4 separate regions of the Homo sapiens genome follow, and regions 1, 2 and 4 are each linked to region 3. The links are contacts of gene promoters, found by promoter capture Hi-C in blood cells and fetal thymus (Javierre and others, 2016). All regions are on one chromosome and are shown on one strand. Each heading gives the region's core, a stretch centred on a gene start or on the middle of the fragment in contact. The rest is flanking DNA. Distances are from core to core; before and after follow the strand shown. Region 1 overlaps TBC1D7-LOC100130357 (TBC1D7-LOC100130357 readthrough). Region 2 holds the start of NOL7 (nucleolar protein 7). Region 3 holds the start of GFOD1-AS1 (GFOD1 antisense RNA 1). Region 4 overlaps PHACTR1 (phosphatase and actin regulator 1).

Region 1 (6,474 bases), core at 9-2,508, 180 kb before region 3:
ATAGGGACGTGATAACCACATGACAGGAAACTTATGCAATTCAAGACAGGGCAAGTGCCTGTCATACCCAGAGCTACAGTGCAAGAAGGTCCTCGGAGCTCCTTCAGCGCATCATATGATTTCAGTGTTGCCTCATAATTTTCAGGCGAACTTTCCATTAACAAAGAAAGTGCTTCATTCTCATGAACCCTGACCTCATTTCCTGAAACAGCCTTGACACACAAGCCTGTGTACACACAATCCTCTACACAATTATACCTCGACGCAATCCATCCATTCGATTTGTCAGCAGGCCAAAGCCACACCCCCAACACACACACACTCTCCAACCTTCCTCGGCCTTCCTTTCTCCTGGCCAAGAGGACTGAGATCTTCTCTCATCTGTGTTTAAGGCAAATCTCTAGACGGGAAAGAGCAGAAACTAAATTTGATCATGTTAAATTCCAGCTTTCCAAGGGCGAGGAAGAATCTCACATTTTAGCCGCAATAGTCTGTGACAGGAACCGTGGGTTGTAATATATGAAGGAAAAATTCTGCAGTATCCTGACAAAATGTTTTGAAGAAAAGGCATATGGATGTATTTTTATCAGGAACTGCGCTCCTCACCCAAGACAGCAGGCACAAACATTTTCAAAACACTCAGCTCTCAGCAAAGTGAAATTCTGCTATGAAGCGAAACTGGATGCTCATCCTCTCCATCCACCACTTTCTCAGGATGGGCCTTAAAAAAATCATTCCGCCAATCAGTGTTTTAATAAAAACTCTCAGATTGACTAACTTCAAGAAAAAATCGCCGCCCCACACCCTACAGCCAGAAAGGTTTTACCAAACTGGGTTTGACAGAATATACTTGCAGAATATTTATTTTTAGATCTCTCAGCAGTACAGTAAGAGTCTTTCGTTTCAGATCAGCTGGCCTCCAGCCAAAGCAGCGAAGTCAGAGGAACTTCAGCCCCTAAGCCTTCCTGCTCCCTAAGAGTACCAGCGCTCCTGCCTGGCTCCGGCATAAATGGTTGGCAATAAGTCATTTTTTATTAAAATTTTAACTCTAGGCAGCAATTTTGCTTTAAAAGGTTTTTCTTTGGAGTGCATTTTTATTTTAAAAAATTAAATACTCTTGGATATGTTAGTATTCAGAAGCAGCAGATTTCAACAGCTCACACTTTCTCTGAACTTTTTTTCAACAGATATTTCACACACTAAGGAGGGCCTGAATTCTCAGAATTGTACCTCTATAAGTTCATAGCTGCCCTCGTCTTTTAGGGGGTGGGTGGAAAATCCAACTCACCACTCAGGCTCTTGCAGGTCTGAAGGCTAAACCGGTGTGAAACAAAGGGTCCCCTTTCACTCACTACTCCCAAAGCCGGGAACTATCCAGTGAAGAGTGGCCATGCCATTTACGTGGCACAAGGTGGCCCAGGGGTGATGAGCTGTTCACCTTCACCGGCCATTTCTCTCACTGCTTTAGTGCGTGGCACAGTGCACCCTAACATCCCACATTTAACACCCCATCAAGAAAAATGTGAGTGCAGCAAAATATCCAACAAGTACTTGCTCCTAGGAGCAATTCAAACACATTTTGTTCAATAATGGTTTCATTCCAACTGGCCCAAAGAGAAAAAAGAGTAAGGAATTGTTTAAAGCCTGTTTAGCAAGATGAAGCCTCAGAAGGCAGTTGGCTTGGATTTAAACACGTATTGCATCAACAAAAGCCAAATCTGAGGTGTCAACAAAAGGAAGTCACTCTTATTCTAGAAACAGACCTTGAAAGTAACTAGCTTGGTGCTAATTAGAGACAGGCAGGGCAGGCTTAGTTATGCACTGCTGGTTAACACACCCACTCACCCTGACTAAACCGCTTTAAAATCAGGGAGCTATTTTCTAACAACCCTTTTGAAATGCTATTCAGAGATGAACTTTACATTTCTATGTAACTGCAAGATGCTGCTCGCCAACACAGCAACACCAGGCATTTCAATTAAATAATTTTATTGGGGGAAAAAAACCACTTTGAGCACCAAAGCAAGAAAAGTGTATTATTCAATCAGTTTCCCAGATCACATGCCAAGAACACAATGCTCACTGTGGTGCCTGGCAGACGGTCCACAACCAGCGGGTGCGTTCAGCTTGAATGGACCGGGGTCCCACAGTGTTTGTGCCACAAGTCAATGGCCTTGCTCACGATCGCGTCTGAGCTGTCCTGGGGAATCTGTGGGCAAGCAAATCAGTCTTTGTGAAATTTCAGTGTTGACAACTTCAGTGTCTTCCCTCATTCGCTGTGGCATGAAATCCACTTCCATGGGAGTTTGCACTGTTTTTCAGAAAGTGACAGCATAAAAGACTTGCGTCACATGCTACCTGAGGACATGAAAGGGCTCCAGTGTCAGCCTGCCTGGGTTCAAATCCTGCACTGCTCACTAACTGTGCACCCCCGGGCAGGTTACCTAAGCTACCTGGGTTTCAGATCCCCATCTCTAAAATGGGGGAAATGATAGCCTGACTTCACAGAGCTGTTCACAGTAGGACATGAGGTAACCCATGGAAAATACTTAGCACAGGCTTCGCACTGCTAGCCACCTCTGGTTATAATGATGATTATTCATTTATTCAACGCATATTGACTCAGTACTTTATTATAATTTACCAGGCCATTTTTCAAATGTTAATACTATTTTAAAAATGAATAGATTTTGGATTCTGTGAAAATCATTCAGGCATAAGTCTCTTTAATCCTACTTCTTGCCTGGTAAAGGGTATTCCAAGATACATAGCGAGGGAAAAGTTAATTTCATTACCATTGCCTTTTTCAGCAATATACTAGGTTAATACTGTATATTAATAAACCCAACTGGGACTACACCAGAGACAGTAACAGAAATGAAATGGCTTACAAAATCCTCCAAAATACAGAACCCCTTTTGAACTGACAAAAATTACTCATTGTAAAATGACAGATCCCACCTATTCCTTTTCCTGACATGCCTGCTGATAGTCACATGGAGGATGAGACTCTGGTTCTAAGTGGACACATTCACGAGATGGTCTCAGACCATCATTTCCCAAAGACAGGATGCAAACTAACCCTCAGGCCAACTTTAGGCCAAACTTTTTCAGGGAAAAGTGTTTCTTATAATGTAAAAATACACTGTATGATTTCTCTGAAATAATCTAATGTAACAGGAAAATCTCACTTGCTAAAGTGACTTCATTTCTAGATTCAAAATCAAATCAAATTATTATTTCTCTTAAATAATTTCCCTAAAATAATCATTATTATAATTATTCTCTGAAACATTCTAAGGTATTATTTCTCTAAAATCATGTAATTATTTCTCTGAAATAATCTAATGTAACAGGAAAATCTGACTTGCTAAGGTAACTTCATTTCCAGATTCAAAATCAAATCAAAGCACACTTACATTTTCCAGAAACTTTGTTATCTTCTCTGCACTGTTCAGTGCCATAACTTTTATTTTAAAGGTTAATAAAATTTCGACAGCTACAAAAACTAGGATCTTACAGGATCCACTCACAACTTTATCCCAAACCCTACAAAAATAAGGAGATATAATCAAATTATATGAGTTTCAGAATTATGTTTAGCCTAGACATCTCAAATTACAAAATAAAATCAAATTGCTCCAATTTTATGTAAAAGCTTCAAAGAACAACTTTTATGAAATAATCACCAAAACAACAACAAAATACAGAAGCCATTTGAAATCTATTCTAGATACAATCAGCACTAGAAGGAGAAAGGAAAGTTTACTAAAAATTACTGCTCCACTAGGAATCTACCAAAATCATATTCCCTCATGTTGTGAACCTGACATTTCTGAGGAAGAAAAAGAAAATCCTAAACTAATGGTTTATATTCTGCTAATATGCCATAATGCTAATATAATTATAGCCTACTAAGGGACAACAAAAGATGTATATGAAATGGGATAAATTCAATTTCATTGCCAGTGATTCTGGGGACAGACTCCTTAAACTTCTCCAAGGGCGTAAGGAGCCAGTTACTGATCTATAACCACTCTAAAATAATAATTCTGATCATTCCTGTAACTCCTAAAAGTTGGTATTCTACTTCATACACTTAGTTACATATTATCTTATAATGTTCTCTGTGTATTGCACTGTTCAGTGCCATAACTTATTTTAAGAGTTACTGTTCTACTACATCACAAAGTCTTAATGGGTGGCACCTGGACTCCGAAATACCCAGACATGTCTGAAACTGACTGGAAGAACTTAGTCAAATCTTTGACTGCTTTCAGCTTCTTTAAAGATATCATGATGAAACTAACACTAAGATTTCTACTGGAGGAAGATTTGTCACATTTCTGGAAAAAAGGGGCTGACGCTTATATAAACTCATGGAGACCATTTGAGGTGTGACTGCTTCACAGCATCTAACGCACTGAGGGCCCTTAATTTTTCTAATTGTATATTCAAGAATAAGCAGAATCATGTGCTGTTACGGTAGCTGCTGGAGGACTGAGCTTCAAATTACTGTATTGTTCTAAAGCAAATTTATAATCTGAGGGATGACCACATGAAAGGCCAGAACTCTGCTCTAACGCCAAGCCTTCAATATGTCTTCGAAAGACCTACTTGCCTCTGTAAACTGGATTCAGGCAAACATCCCGCAAAGCACCTCTTGAACCAGAGATCATAAGGAAGTTTGGGCGCCGCGGAACACATCCTCAGATGAGTCAGCAGTCTGCCATCTTCCAGATTCAAGTATTGTTCAAACGCTTTTGGCTAAAGATTAAGCAAGAACAGAGATTATTCATTTTCTGTGTCATAACATCATCTGATATTATAGTCTCTGATGAAAAAAAAGTACATGCTGAATTCAAGGAAGTATTAGAAAACAAAACTTCAGAATTATCCAAGTCACTTGTGACACAGCAGTTTCCTAGGTCAGCCCTAACTAAAGTAACAAACCATCCAGGACTGAGGAGTTTCCCAGGACACAGGGCTCTTTCAGTGCTAAAACTGAGGCAGTCCCAGGCAAAATGGAATGGTTGGTCACCCTAATACTAACTTCACTAGCCAGATTCAACAGCCTAAGGCAAAAGTCCAAAGCAAAATTCAGTTGTTCTGAGGAGCTAAGGAAGGCCCATTATATTACTGGCTGGTCTAGAGCAGCAGATTATATACTAAGGAAAAAAGGGGGAAAGAGGAAAGGTAAAACCAAAGAAATAGAGTGGGATTAGAGTGGGGAGAGGGCATTAGGAAGAGTAAGACAAAAAGTGATGGTGATGAGAAGGGGCTGACCAGTCACTGACCATACATACACTGCCCTGGATTGAGCACCACTGTGCACCAGTGCCAAGCAGGCTCACACAACAGGGATGTCCAGAGGGTGAACTCTGTATTCAACATAAATGTGCACAAGAATTTCTTAGAATTCAAGGGATAACTCAGAGGGAACAAAGCACCTGGATTCCACTTGGTAGCCTCTCTCATGAGGTCAGGTGGCAGCCAACACTAGAAGACTGGAGAGCTAATAAAGCCAGCTCCCCAAACCTGGCCAAATCCATCTTGCATTGGCTGCTATATTTAGGCTGGCTGCTATATTTAGGGTCCACTGGCTGAGAATGGGCTCTAAGAGTCAAATCCTAAAGTCCACACTCACTATCTGCAGGAGTACAACCAGGGCCCGCATCACTTAAGCAAATGTAATGTTTATTTTACTCAATATCTATACCTCTCTGCTTCTGTTAAAGAGGAGATTCATCACCTTTACAATGTCCACTATAGTCAGAGACTGTGCTACACACAATGAATGGAGTGAAAGGTAAGAGAAAATCCCTGCCTTCAAGGAGCTTACAGCTTGAGACATACTAGTAAAGAGGTAACTACAATACACTGTAACGCTGTGATGCTATGATGGGAACAAGCACAAGATGTTGGGTACATCCAGGAGAAAATCCTAACCTGGGCTGTAGGAGGCAGAAGCAGTTTCTCAGGAGAGGTGACATTTGAGCTGACCTCTGAAGAACAGACAGGAGTTAGCCAGGCAAAGAGGGGCCCACATCATAATATCTGGTCCAGCTTTCCCCTTTCTGTTTCAGGATATCTCTTCTTCCTGTTTATCCAACCTCCCTATACTGCTCAACGGTTCCTAGAATTTCTCAATAACACTGCAGACAACTTCCCAAACAAGGAAATTTGGTTGGTTTTGCAAAGGGGATATATGCACTTTTTTCCTATTGACTTGGTTGAAAACACACACACAGAGTTATATATTATGTCTCAGAGCAAAGAAAATTTCATCCAAAAGTCAGTACAAATAATAAACAAGATGGAGATGTGTGAACATTTTAAAACTATGTATTGTCTTTTTCCTTTATCAGACAATAAGCTCACGGGGGGAAGCTACTGTATCTGTTTTGTTCACTGCTGGTTCTTCAGTACCTAGCACATCACTTGGCATGGTAAGCACTCAATATATAACTGTTG
Region 2 (6,578 bases), core at 2,656-5,155, 130 kb after region 3:
ACAGTCCCAAAATACACTTTACTTGCATAGGTTCTCAGGATTTGAAAAAAACAAACAGAATACACTTTGTAATCATGTCTCTTACACTTTGAAATAAAATTCTTCTTTATGGCACATAAATTCTAGACATTTGCTTCTCAAAATTCCCCCAGTCACAGAGCCCAGCCCATAGTGAAGTGTTATAACTAGAGTTGTTAGAAGCTAGTTGAAAGAAGTGGGCATGGAAATTCATAATACCATCTTTATGAGAATTTGGGTTTTACTTCGGCTATTACTTCAGAAATAAGTGCTTGCTGAAGTAGGGCATTCATTTTGCTAACCTGTAGTTCAAAACTGCTGTATTTGCTTCTTCTCTTTCAGGTTTCATTTCCAGGGACCCTGTGGAACGACTCTTCCTGAAGCCCTTGCCTGTCATGAAAATGAAACTGTTTCTTAAGTGTCCTGGGGAAGAAAGAAATTACAGTATATCTAAGAACTAGGCCACACGCAGAGGAGAAATGGTCTTATGGGTGGTGAGCTGAGTACTGAACAATCTAAAAATAGCCTCTGATTCCCTCGCTGGAATCCAACCTGTTGATAAGTGATGGGGGTTTAGAAGTAGCAAAGAGCACCCACATTCAAAAGTCACAGAACTGGAAAGTTAATTCATATTATTTGGTTTGAACTGAAACGTGAGGTATCTTTGATGTGTATGGTTGGTTATTGGGAGGGAAAAATTTTGTAAATTAGATTGTCTAAAAAAAATAGTTATTCTGATTATATTTTTGTTATCTGGGCAAAGTAGAAGTCAAGGGGTAAAAACCCTACTATTCTGATTTTTGCACAAGTTTTAGTGGAAAATAAAATCACACTCTACAGTAGGTAATTTATTGTATAAAGACATTACCCCACGATATGGCTTTATTAGGGACTTTTTTTTTTTTTTTTTGAGACAGAGTTTCACTCTTGTTGCCCAGGCTGGAGTGCAGTGGTGCGATCTCAGCTCACAGCAACCTCCGCCTCCCGGGTTCAAGAGATTCTCCTGCCTCAGCCTCATGAGTAGCTGGGATTACAGGTATGTACCACCACACCCAGCTAATTTTGTATTTTTAGTAGAGACGGGGTTTCTCCATGTTGGTCAGGCTGGTCTTAAACTCTCGACCTCAGGTGATCTGCCCGCCTCGGCCTCCCAAAGTGCTGAGATTACGGGCATGAGCCACCGCACCCGGCTTACTGGGGGCTTTTTAACCTTGTTTGGCTACATTACCTCAGTGAACAAGGGGAAGCTCACAACAGGAACTCACACAAAGAAGGAAGAGAACAGTACCAACAAGGTAGAACATCACGATGAGAAGAAAGAATGATGCAAATATGTGGACCCCCAGGATAAACACAGCTGCCCAAAATTTAGCTCTGGCCCCCTTAGATGGGGGAAGTCAACAGTGAAGTGTTTCTCAGCATCATAAAGGCAGAAGCTGTGGTTCCTGTGGGGCCTGCCAACCGTTCCCAGATGCTGAACTCTGCTGGGAGTTTTTTCCATGGGACTTTAAAAAATGATGCCCTTAGGTTGGGCCAGACCTCTGTTAACTTCAGTAGGGATGGCACCAGGTTCAAGAGGCCAAAGAAGAGACCTGGAGCTAGTGAAGGAAACATAGGGTTTATTTGGGGAACCTTACAGGGTGGTCCAGTGGCCGCGGGCTGGACAGAACTGCAACCACTTATAAAAAGCATGCAGTTTACATAGCACTTTCACTCAGCACCCTCCCCTCAGCAGCCTCCACGTGGCAACCCTCACTTCTTAAGTTATTGCTGTCAGATGCATCTGCCATACAGGGTCATTCTCAGGGGATGCTTAAGTTATTTCTGTCAGGTACATCTTCCATACACTTTACTACCTTGGAGTAAAGTAGTAAGAATACAGCTTTTTCCTTAACCTTTACCAGCTAACTCAGTGCTTAGGGGCCTTGGAATGCCTGCTGTCCAGCAGGTGTCACAGGCCTGACTGGGAGGCATGGCCATTATCAACAGTGTATGAAGGTCACATATGGCTCCCTGAAGTGATTACATACTTGGACCACATCACCTCAGCCCCTTGCAAAATTGCATTTAATGTTACACCCTTGGCTTTTGTAGAAACAGGCAACAAGACACTATCATATAAAACTTTGTACTGCATTGCAAGGCATAACCTTTAATAAATCCCAGTGGTCCTTTGTGTAGGGAACGGGGATGCTCATAGCCTATGGGGCGGCTGGAGAACCAGTCAGGGACCCTGAGGGCTCGATGTACACTTTACATGGGTGGGCCAAGGAGTTTACACTGAGGGCACTGGTAATACCTGTAATAGTCTTATAGTACTTATAAAGCAGTTTTGCACATAAAATACCATCATGCACTTATAAGTTTGTTCTTGGGCTGCTCCAAGTTAACTTTATTCATTTTCCTAGTGTTAGTGTCTCAGGGAGTCTGATTATATTTTTGATTTGTAATTTCTATCTGACTAAGGCCTAGAGATTTCAAAACTGTTCTTTGCAATTCCTCTCATACTGAACCTCTGGTTCAGCAGCTTTTTTTGTTGTTGTTGTTTTCAAGTTTTATCATTTTTGTTCCTATTTGGTTTTGTCGTTTTTAAATTGAGAATTGCTTCTAAAACAGAAGACATGAAAAGAGAATTAAAAATACAATATATGTGTAAGATAGAATTATTCAACTTAGCATTTATTAAACATCTACCAGATGATAGACATTAGAAATAAAATGACTAGCAAGACCTGGCCCTTCCCCTCAGGGGTTCACAGAATGGCTGGAGCAACTGTCATATAAGCTGTTATGAAGTGCAGAAACTACACAGACATTTGTGCGGGTTCAGACCAGCGCAATTAGAGATGGGCAGAGTGGGATGGGGTAGGGGTAAGGTGCTTGAAATTTGCCTGGGTGGGAATTTTTGAAGTATAAAAAGGACTTCTACCTGGGGGGCTGCGGCAGTAGAGGGAAGAGCACGGTCGGTACAAATGCATGGCAGGTGTGAAACAGTTTGATTTGTTCAAAGAATGATGAATCACTTAGTGTTGTATAATGGATGGGAGGAGAGAAACACAGCGATCACAAAGGGCCATGTTTGCCAAGAAATAAAATATACTTGGAAAAAAAGTACGTATGTGTATATACCACAAAACTCGGGTGCATTCTCTAGGGACCGGCGAAGCCATTCTTTCAGGAGATATGCTCAGCATTTGCCACGGGCCAGCTGCTGTTCCAGGTCGTGGGTTAGGGCCCGGCACCAGGAAGGGCGCCCCTCCCACAGGGCCGACATCCTAACCGGCGTCGCTGCGGCCGCGGAGCTGGGAAGGCCGAGGGCGCCGGGCACGTCTGTGCAGATTTCTTTAGAGTCCAGGTCTGTCGCCCGCGTCTTCGTCGGTGGCAGCAGGGCTGACTGGCCACGGCGGCCATCTGCTAGAGCGCATTTCTTCCCATGAAACGCCACCTCCTCCGAAGTGCGGAGCGAACGCAGCCAAATCTACACAAAGACTGACAAGCTGGATCCACTCGACGGAACCCAGGGCCAAAAAACGGCGGCGAGCAGCGCCTCGGGCCCGCGATTACCGGTTTTCTGAGCACCGGACAGCGTGAGCCGTGCCAGCCCTGTCTCGCCATCCCAGCCGAGGAGGGCAGCGCGATGGCTCTTCCCTGCCTTGAAATCAACCCCATTGCCAGCCGCTTTCGCCGGCAGAGCATTTTCCGTGGGGTCCATCCGGCTCCAAGGCGGCCTGCGCTGGCCACGTGGAAAGAAACACGCCCACTGCCTACAGGCCACGCCCTTCCTCCCTTCGCGCATGCGCCCCACCCGTCCTGAGGACCTCCGAACCTGCAGGGGGCGATGAAAGTAGGCTTGCGCTCCGCTTGTAGCTGCTTCCGGGTCAGAGGTCAGACGGTCTAGCGCTGCGTGGGCCATGGTGCAGCTCCGACCGCGAGCGTCTCGCGCCCCGGCGTCGGCGGAGGCGATGGTGGACGAGGGCCAGCTGGCCTCGGAGGAGGAGGAGGCGGAGCACGGGCTGTTGCTCGGGCAGCCCAGCAGCGGCGCGGCCGCCGAGCCCCTGGAGGAAGACGAGGAAGGGGACGATGAGTTTGACGATGAGGCCCCGGAGGAGCTGACTTTCGCCAGCGCCCAGGCGGAAGCGAGAGAAGAGGAGCGGCGAGTGCGGGAGACCGTGCGCAGGTTCGGAGCCCGCTGCCCGGCGGGGAGAACCGCCCTTTCTCGTCCCGCTTGTCCTTCCCTTTGCTGACTTATCACCCTTCCTCCCAGGGATAAAACGCTCCTGAAGGAGAAGAGGAAGCGACGCGAGGAGCTGTTCATCGAACAGAAGGTTAGAGGCTAGGGAGGAGGTGTCTTATTAAAACAACTCGGCTCAGGGAGAATTCCTATGGTGGATGTAATTTGGGTTGGCAGGATATTGGAGTGGGGAAACAGTCACCAAGATTGCCTCTGACAGTGGTGGAAAGATGCTCGGGCCGGGCGCGGCAGTACTTTAGTTGGACGAGGTGGGCGGAGCCCGGGATGTCGAGGCTGCCTGGAGCCGAGATCACACCACTGCGCTCCAGCCTGGGCGACAGAGCGAGACCCTGTCTCAAAAAAAAAAAGTTCGTCTCCTTTAGTGTCCACCAACTGAAAATAAGAGGTTGCTGTGAGAATTAAATGAGGTGATTTGTAAACTGTAAGGGCTGTACAGACTTAGTGTATGGTTGCTTTGCTGTCTGATACTCGACACAGAGAGCTGGCTCCAGGCAGACATTACTTAACTGCTTTCAATTTATAACAGTGACCTGAGGGTTAGAATACCGTGGGCACCCTTTCTAGTTTTCATCAAGTCTTTCAGAGAATGTGGAGTTTTGTGGACCCGGTCTTCCCATAGCTTAGAGGTATGGGGGCAGTTTCCAGCCTAATTCATTTCTTTGCCTAGATGTAGGGCATTCTTAAAAGCGGTAACTTCAGAAGCAACTCCGGACATACTATGTACATGACTTTCTATTAATTTTAAACGTTTTCATTCCAAAAGAAAAGAAAACTCCTTCCAGACACTATTTTGGAGAAGTTAACCACAGCTTCACAGACTAAGTAAGTAATGGATCTTTTTATATTACTTGCTTATATACACCCATCTTTGAATTATATACTGGTACATTTATTTGAATCCATATAACTGAAGGAATTGTAGAACCCAAATTCAAAAGCTACCTTGGTATATGAATTTGATGGGAAAGACGGAGGTAACGTTCTACTTCTTATTTTACCATTTATTTTTGTTCATTCCCATAGCTAGCTTTTGAATTCCTGATCCCATTGTGTTCATTCAGTACATTTTGTTGACTGCCTGTCATTGTACTAGGGCATAGTGGGTGGTGGTGAATAAAAAGTGTTTTGAATCATTTAGTGGGGTAGCAGGCACTTATCCACAGGCTCTGAAAACTTGATTTGTCCCATACTTGCCTTACCTGCCACCAACCTGTCCTTCCTGTTCCCCACTTCATTTAGCATCTTTGGTGTTTTATGGTTTAAAGCGAAAAGCTATAGTCGTCTTTGGGAATTGATCAAACCCTACTAAATTTAGCCTTCTAAATTTTTTTTTTTCTATCCTCTTTTTCTCCCCTTAAGGCTTTAAATTCAGAAATTCAGCCCCCTTTTGCTTAGGCCAGTGACTCTCAAGTTTTCAGTAAAAAAACTTTACCAAAGAGTTACTCAGATCCTGAATACATTAAACGTAAGAGCAAATCTATTTGGTGGCAAATTCCCTTTCATCTTTTAAAACCAAGCTCAAGTGTCACCTTTACCTTCTCATTTGCCCCCCCCCACCTCCCATCACTTCCGCTTTTGTGTGGCCTTTCTCCTGTGCAAATGCTTCTGTATTGTATTCTGTCCATTTACATTTCTCTCTCCATTGGGCCACAGCCCCCTTGAGGCTGTTCCCTGTCTCCTGTGCCTAAACTATTAAATTAATCCTTTGTGATTTCTCCAAATGAAATGAGGCAGACCTACTCCCATTCACTTCATATTTCAAATACTTTATAACTTGTTCTGAACAAGTGTTTCACTTGAACTCCATTGCCCACAGCATTTTGCTGCTTTGAAAGCCTGCTAATAGGCTCTCAGATTTTAACTGTGAAGATCTTCCAATGCTTGAGAGTTGGTGGCAGTGTACTAGGGAGTGACTATTGCTTTCCAAACTGATGAGAGCTCCTGAGTAGAAATTGAGGGTGTTGGTAATGAAAGGGGGTGTCTTACTTGTAAAGGCAAATGAAATAATATAACATGTTTTGAGTAATCTTTACTGCCATTGCAGTCAGTGGTTTTGTTTTTTTTCCTTAGCATCAAGAAATCGCCAGGAAAGGTGAAAGAAGGTATGACTATTCTAATTTAACTAACTTCTCATGTAAGTGTCAAGTGCACTTGCAGATGTTTCCAGTCAAATATGAATGGCCCTTAGAAAGCCAGCATGGGCCTGGCCAAGGTTAGCTGGGGCCTATTCCCTGTATTTCATACAAATAAAAACTGCATCCACATTGGTGTGTAGTGGATGCTTAAAGTGAACTCCAGTAAATTTCCT
Region 3 (6,725 bases), core at 932-3,431:
AAAGGAGGATGTGTGTGATTCAATTGATCTGAAGTTTCATTTCACTGTGGTCCCTAGACCACACTTTGTAGGGTCCCTACAAAGTAGGGTCCCTAGCCCCTTACTTTGACAGGCCTGTGACCAGTTATGAGTGTGGATCGAAGGCTACAGACCTGTCACCCTCACTGGGCAAGCAATTCAAAGTCCAGGCCTTTGCTAAAAGGACAATTTACCAGGATGAGTCAAAGTAGCTAGTTTCAATTCCAGGCAAACACTCGTATCTATACACTCCCAACAGCCAGATCAGCCTGATAACTGTTTGGGGTTTTTCACTTCCTACGTTCTATGTGTTGAACCTTCAACAGTGACTGTAAAGCAAACCAAGACGACCACCCCACTGTGCACTCGCAGGGGCACCCTGCAAAAGAAGGAGTTAAAAAAAGAAAGAAGAAAGAAGCTCAAAACCTACCCTAAAAACATGAACAAAACCCTATTCTGTCATCACCATTACTAAACTAGGTCTATTATGCCTCTTATCGCTGGTTTTGAAGAGGTAACAGACATGTCTTGTTAATTAAAGTCACAGGGATATTTGAAAAATAAGAACAGAAGAAGTATCCAGAAATGTCTAATTTGTGTCACATCTCTTGAAACCAGAGCCCCCAGACACTTTCATGGCCATGGTCCCAGAGACAGCCAGAAAACAAGGTCATCCTTGTTCCCCAAATTGCCACCCTCCTGCTCTAGGTTTGCTCTGTGGGTCTGAACCCAGGACAGGAACTGCCATCTTTATGGTGGAGAAACGATGTTAACAACATGGTCTTTCAGATATGACCAGTCCTAAGCTCTCCAGTATACGCAGGGCTCATCAGGGACCAGTTTTGTACAAATTGCACTAATAGAATTATACCATAAGATCGTTATAAGATATTTGATATGCAAAGAGCCAATGTAAACAAGGGAGTTATCCACCCAACATACATGTTCCATTAAACAGAAAATAAATATTAGCATTCAGTTCAATGGCATTCAGTTCAAGGCCAAAGAAACAGGCCACAAAGGGCAGACACTTAATAAAATTAACTGACAATTAAAACTGACAATGTGGGCAGCCTCCTTAGGAATTCTATCAGATGTTGCATCTGAGTCAATAGCCAAATGGCCTGATGAAAATGCCTTTCTATGGAGAAAGAGTTTTACATTCTGTTCATAGCTCTTCGAAGACAGAATTAAAACACACGTATATTTCACCTACCCTGAATCCATACCTATTTTTAACAAATAAAACAGTCTTTCCAAGACTACATAACTTCCGGCTGGTTTCTGGATGTTGTCTCTGTTCCTTCGCAGCTCCTCCCTTCTAATCTGTTCTACTATTCGCTTCATCTGGTTATAAGCTTTGTTCTTGTTATAAGCTTTGTGTTTTTCCTCACCAATAGAAACTTCAGCTTTCAAAGGTGAGCTGCTCATTTTCTTGGAATTGTAAGATCAAGCAACCTTCCTGGGATTGTTTTAGGTTACGTGCAAGAACTGATGATGAACAAAACATGCCCTTCTCTTTCCCCTGAGCATAGGCTGAGAGGCTGCTACTCTGTCCTCAGAGATTGTTCAGACTGCCTGGGAGTTGAGGGGAGCAGGGACCAGATGGTGAGGCACCCTGAACTCATCTCCAGCCCACGGGTCAACACTGTGCCTTCCGAAACTATTCCTGAAGGCGATTAGGGAGGGCCTTTTCTCATGCAAAGCATCCATGCCTCTGGAGCTACTGCGCCCATCCTCCTAAAAATTTAAAATCTATTACTCCAAATTGGGGCAGAAGACATTTCCCGGGAGGCTGCAGTCAAAAGTTAAAACCCCCTGGTTTTACCAAATCAGTCTTTACTAACCTATGACGCCTCTGAAAACATTCTAATACATCATCACCCCCATCCAACCACTCCCACCGTCCTTGCCTCCAGCGCAGACGAAATAATTCCAGCCGATGGTAACATCTGCAATCTCACGCTAAACTAACTCACAGCAGAAAGAAACAAACGACCCTAGCAGGGCGCCACCGCTGCTGAAGGGCAGGTCCTCTATCGCACCCAAGAAAACCCGACACACGTGTGCGGCCTTTTATTCAGGCGTTTCTGGGCGCGCACTCGCCTCTCCCAGGCGCGCGCGCGCACAACCCTCCTCCACCCCCCCATCCCCCCCCCCCACACACACACACTTGGACACTACACACACAGCTGAGGAGTAACTTTCCTCTTCTCGCGGAGCACCCTATCCCCTATTATCGGCATCTGATCTTCCTAGTTCGGATCCCCGGAACACACGCCTTCTCCAGCCTGCAATCTACACACGTGGGGAAGCGCGTCCAAGTGGTGCCAGGAGGCAGGAGGGAAGCGCAAAGGTGGGGAAGGCCGGGGACGAGGAAGGAGGGAGCTCTGAGTCGGATCTGGGATCTCAGATCCCCGGGGCAGCGTAGATGCAGGGTAAGCTTCTGGGATGCGGAGAGGGAAAGGCAGGGGGGAAGGAACCTAGAGAAGGTTAAAGGGCGGGGGTGGGACGGAGGATGCGGGGTAGGGGTCGCTCACCTAGGGTTTTGACAGCGATCTGTCTGGTGAGGGGCGGCGGCAGGTTAATGCACACCAAGTCCACGTCCTGATGCAGCAGCACCTCATCAATGCGGCTAGTGTAGAAGGGGACACTCATCTCCTTGGCCAGCTCCTCCGCTTCTTCCTGCGTGCGGCCCCACAGCGCCTTCACCGCGAAGCCCTCGTCTTTCAGCAGCGGGATGATGACACGGGCCGTGAGGCTGGTGCCGAACACGCCCACCCCGGGAAGCATGGCTGCTCAGAGCCGCCTGGTTCTGCTTCTGCTCGGATCTCCAGTCCAACGCGCGCACACACCCACCTCTAGCCAGTCCTGCACCCCGCTCCTGTAGCCAATCTAGCCGCGGTGCGCCAGCCGCCGTGCACCGGGCAAGGCGCCCGGGTGCCCAGAGCGCACCGAGCTGCAGGCGGAGCAAGCTCGGGGCGCCTCAGAACGGTGACTGCGGCAGTGTCCGCCACGCGGGGCTCGCGTCCTTCCCGGAGTCGGCGGCAGGGACCCCCCCAGGGCGCCGGAGGCTTCGAAGCCCCCTGGAGCCCCGGCTCAGGCTGCGCTCCCGCGGCAGCGCCAGTCCGCTGCGTGCGCCCCGCCAAGGCCGCTCCATGGCCGGCTCATCCCCGCGGCCGCGCCGCCGCAGCCCGGGACCGGCTCTCTCCCGCGTCGTTTGCGCAGCCGGCGAATCGCACAGACAAACGTCTACACCCTGCCAGAGCACGGAACCGCTCCGCGGGGGAGTCTCCTTTCTTCCTAGCTCTCCGTTGGGAATGAAATAATCCCGCGGCCGCCAGGAGGCCGGCTAAGGATGCGGCCCGGAGCGCGCCGGACTGGGATCCCGAGCTGCAGCGCGGCAGCGGCGGCCACGACCCGGCGCCAGCCTCCTCATTCTGCTGCCATGTTCGCTCGCCTCGCGGCTCGGGCGGCCTCGGCCCCAGGCCGGCTCAGGCTCTGGGATCCCGCGGGGACGAGGGCGGAGTTGGCGAGTTTGGCTGTCAGCGGCCGGTGTTCCTGCACCGCCCTCGCTGCAGCGCCGCGCGCCATTGGCCGCCGCGCGCCGCCCCCGCCCCCGCCGCCGCCAGCTCCGGGTGCGCGCTGCGCCCGGGCCCCGGGAGCCCAGCCCGGCTCCTCCCCGGCCCCGCCCAGGCCGCCTCGCCCGCCTCCTGCCCCTCCGCTTCTTCCCTTTCTTTGCCCTCACCATCTCCTTCTCTTCCCTGCTTCACTCCAAACCCCGCCCCAACCAAGCAAATACATCTATCTAGGCAGGACGCGCCCTAATAGGTTAGTCGCCTGTCCCTTGGAAGAGAGCAGTGGGCGCCTTGGCCTGGGGTAGGTGAGGGGACCCGGCGAGGTGCGAACAGCCGATAATAATAACCTCGGCTCCCGGAGCGTTTCTTGCGTGCTGAGCATCATACTAACGCCTTTCCAGGTATTGTCCCTTTTAGTCCTCGCAGCAACCTAAGGTTATTGTAAACCCATTTTACCAGTGATGTGAATGAGCCGCAATGAAGGCTAAGGGACTTGCGCAAGGTGACATATATAAGCAACAGGCCTGCGATTGGAATCCAGGCCCCAGAGTCTGGGCACGGAACCGCAGACTTCTACGGTCTCCTTCCAAGCTAGCCTGCTCCAATCGCGCGCCCCCGCTCCGGCCGCGCACGCACGGTTCAGCCGCCTTCTTCCAAGACAGTCCAGTCTTGGCGGGCTCCCATCTGCCTCCCACCTCCCCCGCCCCTAGGCCCATGCCCGCCCCCGCGTAGACGCTGTGGTGTGTACGGCCGCAGCGGGGCAGGGGGTCTCCGAGGCCGCTGCGGCACGTGCGTCTCGTGTCTAGTTTCGAGACGGATACGTCGCCCTGGCCACATGCCACGCCCGCCTCTTGCTTCGGCTCCTGTTGCCGTCGCCACTTACCGCAGCCTTTACTTCTCCCAGCTTGCCCCCACCTCCACCACCCTGCACCCTTCCCAGGCCCTCGAGGGGGCACTGAGGAGGACTGGCCAAGGCTGGCCCCGCACCTCTGGAGCCATGGGGACTCTGCGTCTGTCTGGTTTTCCGCCATATCCTTGGCACCTGGCACACTGCCTTGCCCTGTATGTAGTAGGCGCTCAATAAACATTTGCTAAATAAATGTATGCATATTCATCGAATGCCCGCTTCGCACCCATTTGGTGCCGGGAGAGGGGACTAAAAAGTGAAAGGCACGTCTTCTAGCTGAAGGTCTCTGGAGAGGTCATGGGTCAGGTCATGTTCATCTCCTGTCTTCAGCACTGGGCTCAATGTAGCACATGGTCTGCCGCAACACGAGTGGAAAACGTGATACTTGCAAGAGTTTAAAACAACTTGTAACAACTGGCAGTGAGGCGGGGCGCGTGGAGAGAGCAGGATACCAAAAAAGCTGTGTGTGGCAATGCGGGGTGGAGGCTGACCTAGGGCATTAGAAGAAAGGCACAAAGGACACAGTGCTGGGTGGCTGGCAGCAGCCTGGGGAGGACTGAGAGACAAAGAGGGGTGTTGCCCTCAATACTAACAGGCTTCTTTTGAGCAGGGGTTTTGTAAGAACCAAGGCAGGAACGCCTATCTGGGCACAGGGGCAGGCAGTGGTGTCAGACCCAAGGGGCTGGATACATCACAGGCTTGTCACATGTCAGAGATGGCCAGGCTTTCAGGGAGCAGAGGATGTGCAGTAGTGGTCGGAGCACAGCTAGAGCCACTGGCGTTGACTTCTGGCTCTGCCATTTACTAGCTGTGGGACCTTGAGCAAATCACTTCTCTGCGGCATAGTTTCATCTATAAAATGGGTGGGTAATAATGGTATATACCACAAGGGGTTTTACAGGATCGTATTCACTAATACTTACAAAGTCCTGAGAATAAGGCATGGTGCATAGTAAGTTCTATATAAATGTTAAATAAATAAATATAGAGAATGGGTCTGTTACCAATGTCATTTCTTGATGAGAGAGACCATTGTACAGTGAAGCAATATCTAAGTAATAAGATGGAGTTTTGTTTGTGTTCTTTTAAAAAGAACTCTACCCCTAGCTTGAGTGTGAATAAAAAATGGACCTTCTAAGCCTGCTGTGGTGGCTCACACCTATAATCCCACTGACTGGGGAGGCCTAACCAGGGGTATCGCTTAAGCCGGAAGTTCTAGACCAGCTTGGGCGACGTAGCAAGACCTCATTTCCTAAAAAATTTAAAAATTAGCTGGACATGGTGGTGTGTTGTGTGTCTGTAGTCCCAGCTACTTGGGAGACTGAGGTGGGATTGAGCCCAGGAGTTCAAGGCTGCAGTGGGCCTAGCCTTGATCATGCCACTGCACTCCAGCCTGGGTGACAGAGGGAGACCTTTTCTCTAAAAAAGAAAAGAGACCTTCTATCTATATAACATCAAAGAAAATGATCACATTTTATTCTCATTAAAATTTATAAATAAACATTATCTCCATTTCATAGAAGGCAAAACTATGTCCTGCTAGCAAGTCCAACTTAAAGGTTTAAAACAGAATACTTCATTTCCAACCTTACTCTCAAGCCATTCCTCCTTCATCAATAAATAAAATCACCAGTTCACCAGTTGGCCAAAAGCCATGGAGTCATCTGGTCCTCATATCCTTTATAGCCAACCATCAGCAAATCCTGTCTGCTCCACTTGCAGAATGCATCCAGAGTCTGCCCACCTCTCCCTGCCATGGTTGGGGAGTCAAAGTCACCATCATCACTATCAGGACCACTGTCCTTACTGGTCTACCTGCTTCCAGTGATGCCCCTCGTAGTCCATAGATCCCATAAAAGATAAGTTGAATCATCACCCGTCATGCTTGGCACCTGCCAGTGAATACCCTTCACACTTCAAATCAACTCCAAAGGCCTCAGCATGCCTGAAAGACTCTACCTGGCCTAACCCATAGGCCTATTGCATACCTCCCCATACCCTGCATTCCAGCACTCTGGCCTCTTTGCTGTGCTCTTTACAGGCTGAGTTTGTTCTTGCCCCAGGGCCTTTGCACTTGCTGTTTCATTTGCCTGACACCCCATTCCCCCCACCCCAACACACACACACATACACACACAAATCCACGGGGCTCTCTGCTCACTTTGCTCAAGCCTCTGCTCAGACTGCCTGGCCTGACCATCTCATCTAAAATGACAACTCTG
Region 4 (7,006 bases), core at 2,427-4,926, 230 kb before region 3:
TATATCATTAGAAGCAGCCAGGCTACATTTTGAATTTGGCTGCTTAGAAATTTCTTCTGCCAGATACTCTAAATCATCACTCTCAAGTTCAAAGTTCCACAGATCCCTAGGGCAGAGGCACAGTGCAGCCAAGTTCTTTACTAAAGCATAACAGAAGTGACCTTTGCCCCAGTTCCCAATAAGTTCCTCATTTCCATTTGAGATTTCATCATCCTGGCCTTCACTGTCCATATCACTTTGAGCATTTTGGTCACAAGCCATTCAACCAGTCTCTAGGAAGTTCCAAATGTTCCGTCATCTTCCTCTCTTCTTCTGAGCCCTACACACTCTTCCAATCTCTGTCCATTACCCAGTTCCAAAGTCACTTCCACATATCCAGGTATCTTTATAGCAATACCCTACTCCTCAGTTTCAAATTTCTGTATTAGCCTTTTCTCGAACTGCTACAAAGAAATACCTGAGACTGGGTAATTTTTAAAGAAAAGAGATTGAATTGGCTCCTGGTTCTGCAGGCTGTACAAGAAACCTAGCAGCTTCTGCTTCTGGGGAGTCCTCAGGAAGCTGCCAATCATGGCAGAAAACAAAGGGGGAGTGAGGCATCTGACATGGCAGGAGCAGGAGCAAGAGAGAGAGGAGGAGGTGCCACACACTTTTCAACAACCAGATCTCATGAGAACTCATTCACTATCAGGAGAACAGCACCAAGGGAATGGTCCTAAACCATTCATGAGAAACCACCCCCATGATCCAGTCACCTCCCACCAGGCTGCACCTCCAACACTGGGTATTACAATTGAACATGAGATTTGGGTGGGGACACAGATCCAAACCATATCAATCCCTAACTTCATAGAGTTTTATTATACATCATAATCATCTTTCTAATTCCCACCCATCCAGCACCTTATCTGGAAAACGTTCATCAGATATATCTTAAATCATATTGAATTAAGTAAAATGGAAATAAAATAAAATAAATAAAGGTTAAACCCATTGGTCTAAATCACAGCTCTTGACTCCTCTGGGATCTTCTTACTTCCACAGGATAGAACACAAATCTCACGTTTTCCCTTGTAGATGGAGGCTGACACTTTGCGCATGCTATTTCTTTCCTTATTGCTCAGTGACCTCTGTCTTGTCAGTAGAGTCATATGCAGGCTGTCTCCACATCTTCACATCTCTCTAACCTTACCTGCTTGCATGTCCACCCACCTATTGAAGCAGCCTCCTTCAACCTTTTATGACAGCATCTAGAGCTGTTGTTCTCAAACTTTAGCATGCACGTGCATCTCCTGGAGAGAGCTTGTAAAACCAGCACAGATGGCTGTGCCCCACTCTCAGACCTTCTGATTCAGTAGCTCCGGAGCCCAGTGGTTTGCAGGTTAGAGAGCACCCAGGTGATGCTGACGCTGGGGACCACGCTGTGAGAAGCACTGACCTGGGATTCTTCACAATCCTCAGTGCAGGTTTGAATTACCTGCAAAGCTTAAACAAACAAACAAAAAAATACAACAGGCTGGGAGCAGTGGCTCATGCCTGTAATCCTAGCACTTTGGAAGCCCGAGGTGGATGGATCACCTGAGGTCAGGAGTTCGAGACCAGCCTGGCCAACATGATGAAACCCCGTCTCTACTAAAAATACAAAAATTAGCTGGGCATGGTGGCGCGTGCCTGTAATTCCAGCTTCTAGGGGGGAGGCAGGAGGATTGCTTGAACCTGGGAGGCGGAGGTTGTAGTGAGCTGAGATCGCGCCACTGCACTCCAGCCTCGGCGACAGAGAGAGACACCGTCTTAAAAAAAGAAAAAAAAAAAACAGTGCTTAAGCTCTACTTTCATACATTCTGATTTAATTGGTTAAGAATGTGGCCCAGGTTTAAGGTAACACAGGTTATTCTAAGGTGCTACGGGAATGAGAACCACTGACATAGAAACCATGGCAAGCGGCAGAGATCAGGAAAAGAGACAAAATGCTGTAGCAAGAGGACCAGCAATGGGCTTGAAGTTATAAGTTCAGTGTGGTTTTTGTTCCCACTAGTCTCGTGAAGGGTGATGATTGGCAGTGGTGGCCCTGCACCAGTTTTGCCTCAATCTCAGTCTTTTCCTTTGATCAGATCATGTTAAGCTTCTTGAAGACTCTGACAGAGGGTTACTTAAAAAATGCTTTGTGCTCCTAGAAAGAAGGTTCATTTTTTGCCAAAGGTACCTGGTAGAGCTCTTTATTGGAAAGGAGCAGGGAAAAGCAAAGGCTAAATTTTAGTTTTTAAGGTGTGAGGAGAAGCTAATAGCAAAAGATAAAACATGGTCTATATTTGATGGCAGAGCTTTTTAAATCATCTGTGCGTGGTCATTCTTGCTGATGTTGTTTTTATATATAGCTCTAACTGAAAGCCTAGCCCAATTTCTGGCACATAATACACGCAGGGATGGTTGGAGGAGTTAAGCTAAAGGTGACCAAATCTCCTGAGTCACTTTAAAGTGGTGGAGCACTGGACATTTGTCTTTTATTCTGTATTTCCTAGCTTTTTGGCATCACAATGTTTTGGCACTCATTTTGATGGATTCTTCTTGTAAAAATAGCCTTGTTGAAATGACTGTCTTAATTTCTGTTGTAATTAACTACCTTAATTTCTGTTATAACAACTCAGATACTCTTTCAAAGTGGAATCATCCTGACATGGGGTTTATGTCCAATAATCCTAATAATACTGAAAATGTTCACTGTGCAGGCTCTCAACCGTCTCACTGTTTTGTTTTTCAATGGATTTGATGCCTAGTAATACACACAGTCCCATCATTACTCCAAAAGTGATTTCCACTCAACATGACCAGCAATATTACAATACTTTTTTGGGTTATTATCTCAGTGTCTCATCTTAGCCACAGGCCATTGCACTGGGGTCATAGCCTCCAGAGAATAAAGCCAAAAATATTCTTTTAAGCGTAACCTGTTTATCTATTTCAGGTAAGGGATTTTTTTCAAGTTACCAAAAATAGTATTTCATGCTTTGTACTTATTTTTAAAAGGGACTTTCACATCTAATTCTCCTTTGATCCTCCTGACAGTCCTACACAGCAGGCGGGCTAGATGTCATTATGACCATTTGTCATATAGTGAAATTGGGCATGGAGGGGTAAGGAGATGTCATGTGCTCAAGGGACCTTCTGATGAGTGGTGCAGGCAGGCCAGGATGCGGGCCTCAGGGCCCCAGTTCATCTTCCCCCCTCTGTGCTCTCTCCTCTAGCCAGGCTAACTGTTCTTAGCTTAAGGGGAATGACAGAAATTTGAAAATCATTGATGGAAATGCCTGGGAAGAGCTGGGCGTGCGGATCAATAGTATTAAGAGTTGTTCTGCTCAGTTTGCAGAGAGAAAAGGGCATAGTACTGAGGAATAAAAGCAAAACTGCTGTTCAGCCCTCCCAGCAGCCCCTCTTCTGTGGCAGGAATGCCTTCCCATACGCCCAGCATTCTCATTCATCCCATGGGCACAACTCCAGGGGCGAGAGATTATTAATTTGTTTAACATAAAAAATCAAATGAGCCCCTATTATGTGCCAGCTGCTGTACTAAGTACTAAGAACACAGAGATAAATAAGATGTAATTGGTGGTTTTGGAGCATTCATCGTCCAACTGAGAAGATCTTCATGTACGCAGGTATCACCAATGTAATGGATAAGGCCATCGTCAAGATGGGGAACTCCATAGACAGAACTACTACCTCTGCCTGGTAGAATCAGAGGAGGCATCTCAGCTTCCCTAAACTGTGAATGTGCTACTGGGTTGTCCTACTGTGAATAAGGGAGTGAAGGTAAATGAGGCATTGTGGCCAGGCTGTGGTGTGGAGTGAATTCAAGCATTATTCTTAGCGCAATGTCAGGCGGTGGAAGGCTGGTAGCAGAGGAGTAAAACAACCAAGCTATGTCCTCCCCGCCTCCCAACTTCTCCTCTGCCCCTTCTTAGCACTAAAATACTAAGAATTTTGACCAGGACTGGCAGTTAAAGTATTCTCTTTGTTCCATCGCACAGAGATGAAAAAGCTGAGGCTTAGAGAGGAATGCCGTCTCATTCAAGATCTCACACTTGTTAAACAGCAGGCTGACCCAAGCTGGTGACTGGCATGCATCATACTGCCCAAAGCCACTCTGAAGGATAGGGCACCCCTGGGCTTTTATCACACCTGAGATCTGCTGAGTAGCAGGAATTAGGAAATATTAAGAGAGAAATATGAGACTATTAGTCAAAGGTATCATATAATAGAGAAAGGTTTAGTAAAATAAGGGCTCCAAAAGGCCACTGGATTAGACAATTGAATCATCGATGACCTTATCAAGAATTGATTCAGTAGAGCAAGGCTTCTCAACCTAAGCACTGTTGATGCTTTGGACTGAATGATCTTTGTGGTGGGGGCTGTCCCATGCATTGGAAGATGTTTAGCACCCTGGCCTCTATCTACCGGATGCCAACAGCACCCTCTCAATCGCAACAACCAAAAATAACTTCAGACATTACCAAATGCATCCTAGGAGGCAAAATCACCCATGCTGAGAACCAGCACAGTAAAGCTGTGTGAACAGAAGCCAGACTGGAGAGTTACTGAGACCTCGAGCCTGGACCACCCTTTCGAGAGGTCTGGCAGCCAAGAGCAGACAGGTGAGAGGGGTGAGCTGGAGGAAGAGGCTGGCGTAGGAGGACAGCTTTGTTCGTTTGTTGTTGTTTTAAAGAGTTTTATTTCTAATGGAGAATACAGTTGTTTGCCCTAAGGAAAGAACCAAGAAAGAGGTAAAGGTTAAAGGTAAGGAAAAGTCACCAAGTAGCATCCATTTAATTATTTCACAAACATTAAGCATCTCCAGTTACCAGACTCTGTGCTAGGCTCTGCAGATGTCATGGTGAACAAGTGAGAGGTTCCTTGTTCAAAAGATAAAAAAATATTGAAAAGTTTGAAATGGCAACAGAGCATTAAACCCCAAGCAGGAAGCCCTTCTGTGCAGGGGTGGAGTAGGAGGGTGTTCTGTGCACCTGCTCAGATTCTATGGACAGGAAGCTATCCCTGGTTGTCTAAGTGAGGCAGAGGTGGCCCTGGCCTCACAGAGTGTAAGCCTTGTTGTCTGGTGAATAGGACAGGCAATAAAAGAAAGTAAAACAAGCACTGGGGTATGGAACATGCAGGAATATTGTTGCACACTGTAGGACACCTAAACCAAGAGATTTGCAGACAGAGGAAGTGATACTGAAGCTTTAAGCTGTAACGTTAGGGATTATTGTCAGTTAGACAGACAAAGAGGAAGGAAAAGAATGGTAAGGCTATGAGGAAGGGCATGCAAATCTGGAAGGAACCAAGAAGAGATCATTCTGGGTGAAGGACAGAATGGGCAGATTCTTGACAGGCAGGTAGCCAGATCATGAAGAATCTTTCAGAACACTGAGTGTTTTGACTCTGTCCTGTGAGCACTGTAAAGGCATACTTACTTTTCAAGCACAGAGTGGTGTGATCAGATCGGTCCCTTAGAAAGATCATTCTGTATGGGCTGGAGGAGGACCAGAGTGGGATAGGCTGGCAGCAACTGGGAGAGATGCTGATGGACTGCTTCCCCAAGGTGGTGGTAGATGGAATCAGAGATGGTTTGGATATAGGACTCTTGGTGGTTGATTGGCCATCAAGAGTGAAGTTCAGACAGGATGATTCCCAGTTTCATGGCCTGGGCATCTCACTAGGACTCCATACAAGACCACTTGGAGAGGAAGATGTATGGGGGAAGAAGATGAGTTAATTCATTTGGGACCCTTTAAGTCTGATGGCCCATAGGAGTACAAGACAGCAGTTAGAAAGGTGGCCAGGAACTCAAAAATATGACTGGAGGTTTAGATTTTGGAATCATCAGCATATTGATGCTATTGGAAGTCATGAGTGTTGATGAGATCATCCAAGGAGCATGTGTGGCATCTGAACTGGTGGGATCTGGGTTAAATAGTTACTAAATGAGCATCTATTATGCTCTCTATGCTCTCTTAGGAACTGGGGATGTAGTAATAACCAAGGCCAGACAGAAATGCCCCAATCCTCATGGAACTCATAGGTTCTCAGGAGGAAGTTTCCAAAGGATGTAGAGGGGATAGAATTCAGTGCTTCTCCCTTTCCCCTGATCCCACCAAGCCCATCTACACTTCTGGATACCTGTTAGAAAACCCCATCTCCTCCTACTTTTGGAGAGAGGATCTTATTTTCTGTCATTCTCTGTGAGGACTTTTGCATTTCCTCTTTCCATCTGTCTGAAAATGCAGTTACCTTTCTCTGGTGCTGAGTTGCAGAAAACCCAAGTTAATTCTGTTTTTCCTTTGTCCTGAAATGCAGATACAGTTTCAGAGATCCAGACTTTAAAATCAAGGCCCTCAAAACAATAAGCAGTTGTAAATGCTAATGAAAGCTGTGACCTTGGTGTTCTGGAAACGGCAGAAAGCCCATTAGCTCTGTGCAGCACAACTAATCTCTGTCAGCCTCAACAAGTCAGACCAACAAAACCTACAAGGGTTTTGTCACTTCTCTAGGGAGATGCTGTAATGTGCAAAGACAATGCTGCCTGCTCTGCATACATTTAAAGCATCTTGCCACTACATTCTCTACCAGTCTTCTTTTTCCAAGGTCAAAACTGAAGTGTCCTTTATTTTGGGCTTTTAGTGTTTTTTTTTTTTTTTTTTTTTTTCAGTCTTTCCATGCAAAAAGAAAACTTCAATTTATTTGATTATTTCTTATGGTCACCAGTAGAGACAGCATTGTTCAGACTGAAAAAAAAAAAAAGGCAAGATCCATTCTTAAATTTTTAAAGAAAATAGAAGGCTCACATACAGCACTTGATAGCATGTGGCATTTAAACAGGAACCCAGAGATTTTTTCAGTTCACTGAATCATTTAGCCATAGTCCATGGTAAAGAAAAAACCATTTGAGGCATGGAAACCATTTTGCTGCTCAGACATATTTTATAAACCAGGGTCACATATATAGTAGCAA

Evidence for each region. Contacts are between HindIII fragments. The CHiCAGO score rates a contact against its expected background, and 5 or more counts as called.
Region 1: a fragment that was not itself captured here is called in contact with the fragment with the promoter of GFOD1-AS1 in region 3 in 1 of 17 cell types (monocytes); the score reaches 5.0 in monocytes.
Region 2: a contact is called between the fragment with the promoter of NOL7 here and the fragment with the promoter of GFOD1-AS1 in region 3, in 15 of 17 cell types (activated CD4 T cells, erythroblasts, neutrophils and 12 more). The highest score is 15.9, in activated CD4 T cells.
Region 4: a contact is called between a fragment that was not itself captured here and the fragment with the promoter of GFOD1-AS1 in region 3, in 3 of 17 cell types (naive B cells, total B cells and monocytes). The highest score is 5.6, in naive B cells.

The regions. Positions count from the first base shown.
Region 1 is chr6:13,302,979-13,309,452 of GRCh38, forward strand. It overlaps TBC1D7-LOC100130357 (TBC1D7-LOC100130357 readthrough), which reads right to left. Exons shown (of 9, transcript NM_001318809.2): 6 at 4,622-4,767; 7 at 3,420-3,549; 8 at 2,084-2,209. The coding sequence ends at 2,123. TBC1D7 (TBC1 domain family member 7) reads right to left here. Exons shown (of 8, transcript NM_016495.6): 6 at 4,622-4,767; 7 at 3,420-3,549; 8 at 1,973-2,209. The coding sequence ends at 2,123. Among named protein-coding and RNA genes, the nearest start is that of TBC1D7, 22 kb to the right of the region's middle. RefSeq lists enhancers at 123-172, 4,263-5,462. The HindIII fragment of the contact is 4,796 bases long and covers 1-3,656 here.
Region 2 is chr6:13,611,430-13,618,007 of GRCh38, forward strand. NOL7 (nucleolar protein 7) reads left to right here and starts at 3,906. Exons shown (of 8, transcript NM_016167.5): 1 at 3,906-4,195; 2 at 4,283-4,343; 3 at 5,034-5,092; 4 at 6,341-6,372. The coding sequence starts at 3,930. It overlaps SIRT5 (sirtuin 5), which reads left to right. Exons shown (of 10, transcript NM_012241.5): 10 at 361-3,729. The coding sequence ends at 436. LOC124901263 (a long non-coding RNA gene) reads right to left here and starts at 3,773. Exons shown (of 2, transcript XR_007059461.1): 1 at 1-3,773. RefSeq lists an enhancer at 3,119-3,288. The HindIII fragment of the contact is 25,604 bases long and covers 1-6,578 here.
Region 3 is chr6:13,484,080-13,490,804 of GRCh38, forward strand. GFOD1-AS1 (GFOD1 antisense RNA 1) reads left to right here and starts at 2,182. Exons shown (of 2, transcript NR_046709.1): 1 at 2,182-2,374; 2 at 2,602-2,692. GFOD1 (Gfo/Idh/MocA-like oxidoreductase domain containing 1) reads right to left here and starts at 3,521. Exons shown (of 2, transcript NM_018988.4): 1 at 2,559-3,521. The coding sequence starts at 2,811. RefSeq lists enhancers at 68-137, 2,773-2,882, 4,443-4,572 and silencers at 2,709-2,872, 3,013-3,492, 3,513-3,892, 4,273-4,382. The HindIII fragment of the contact is 1,067 bases long and covers 1,393-2,459 here.
Region 4 is chr6:13,256,562-13,263,567 of GRCh38, forward strand. The region is part of intron 10 of PHACTR1 (phosphatase and actin regulator 1); the gene reads left to right. Among named protein-coding and RNA genes, the nearest start is that of TBC1D7, 68 kb to the right of the region's middle. RefSeq lists enhancers at 1,101-1,601, 1,602-2,102. The HindIII fragment of the contact is 3,113 bases long and covers 2,121-5,233 here.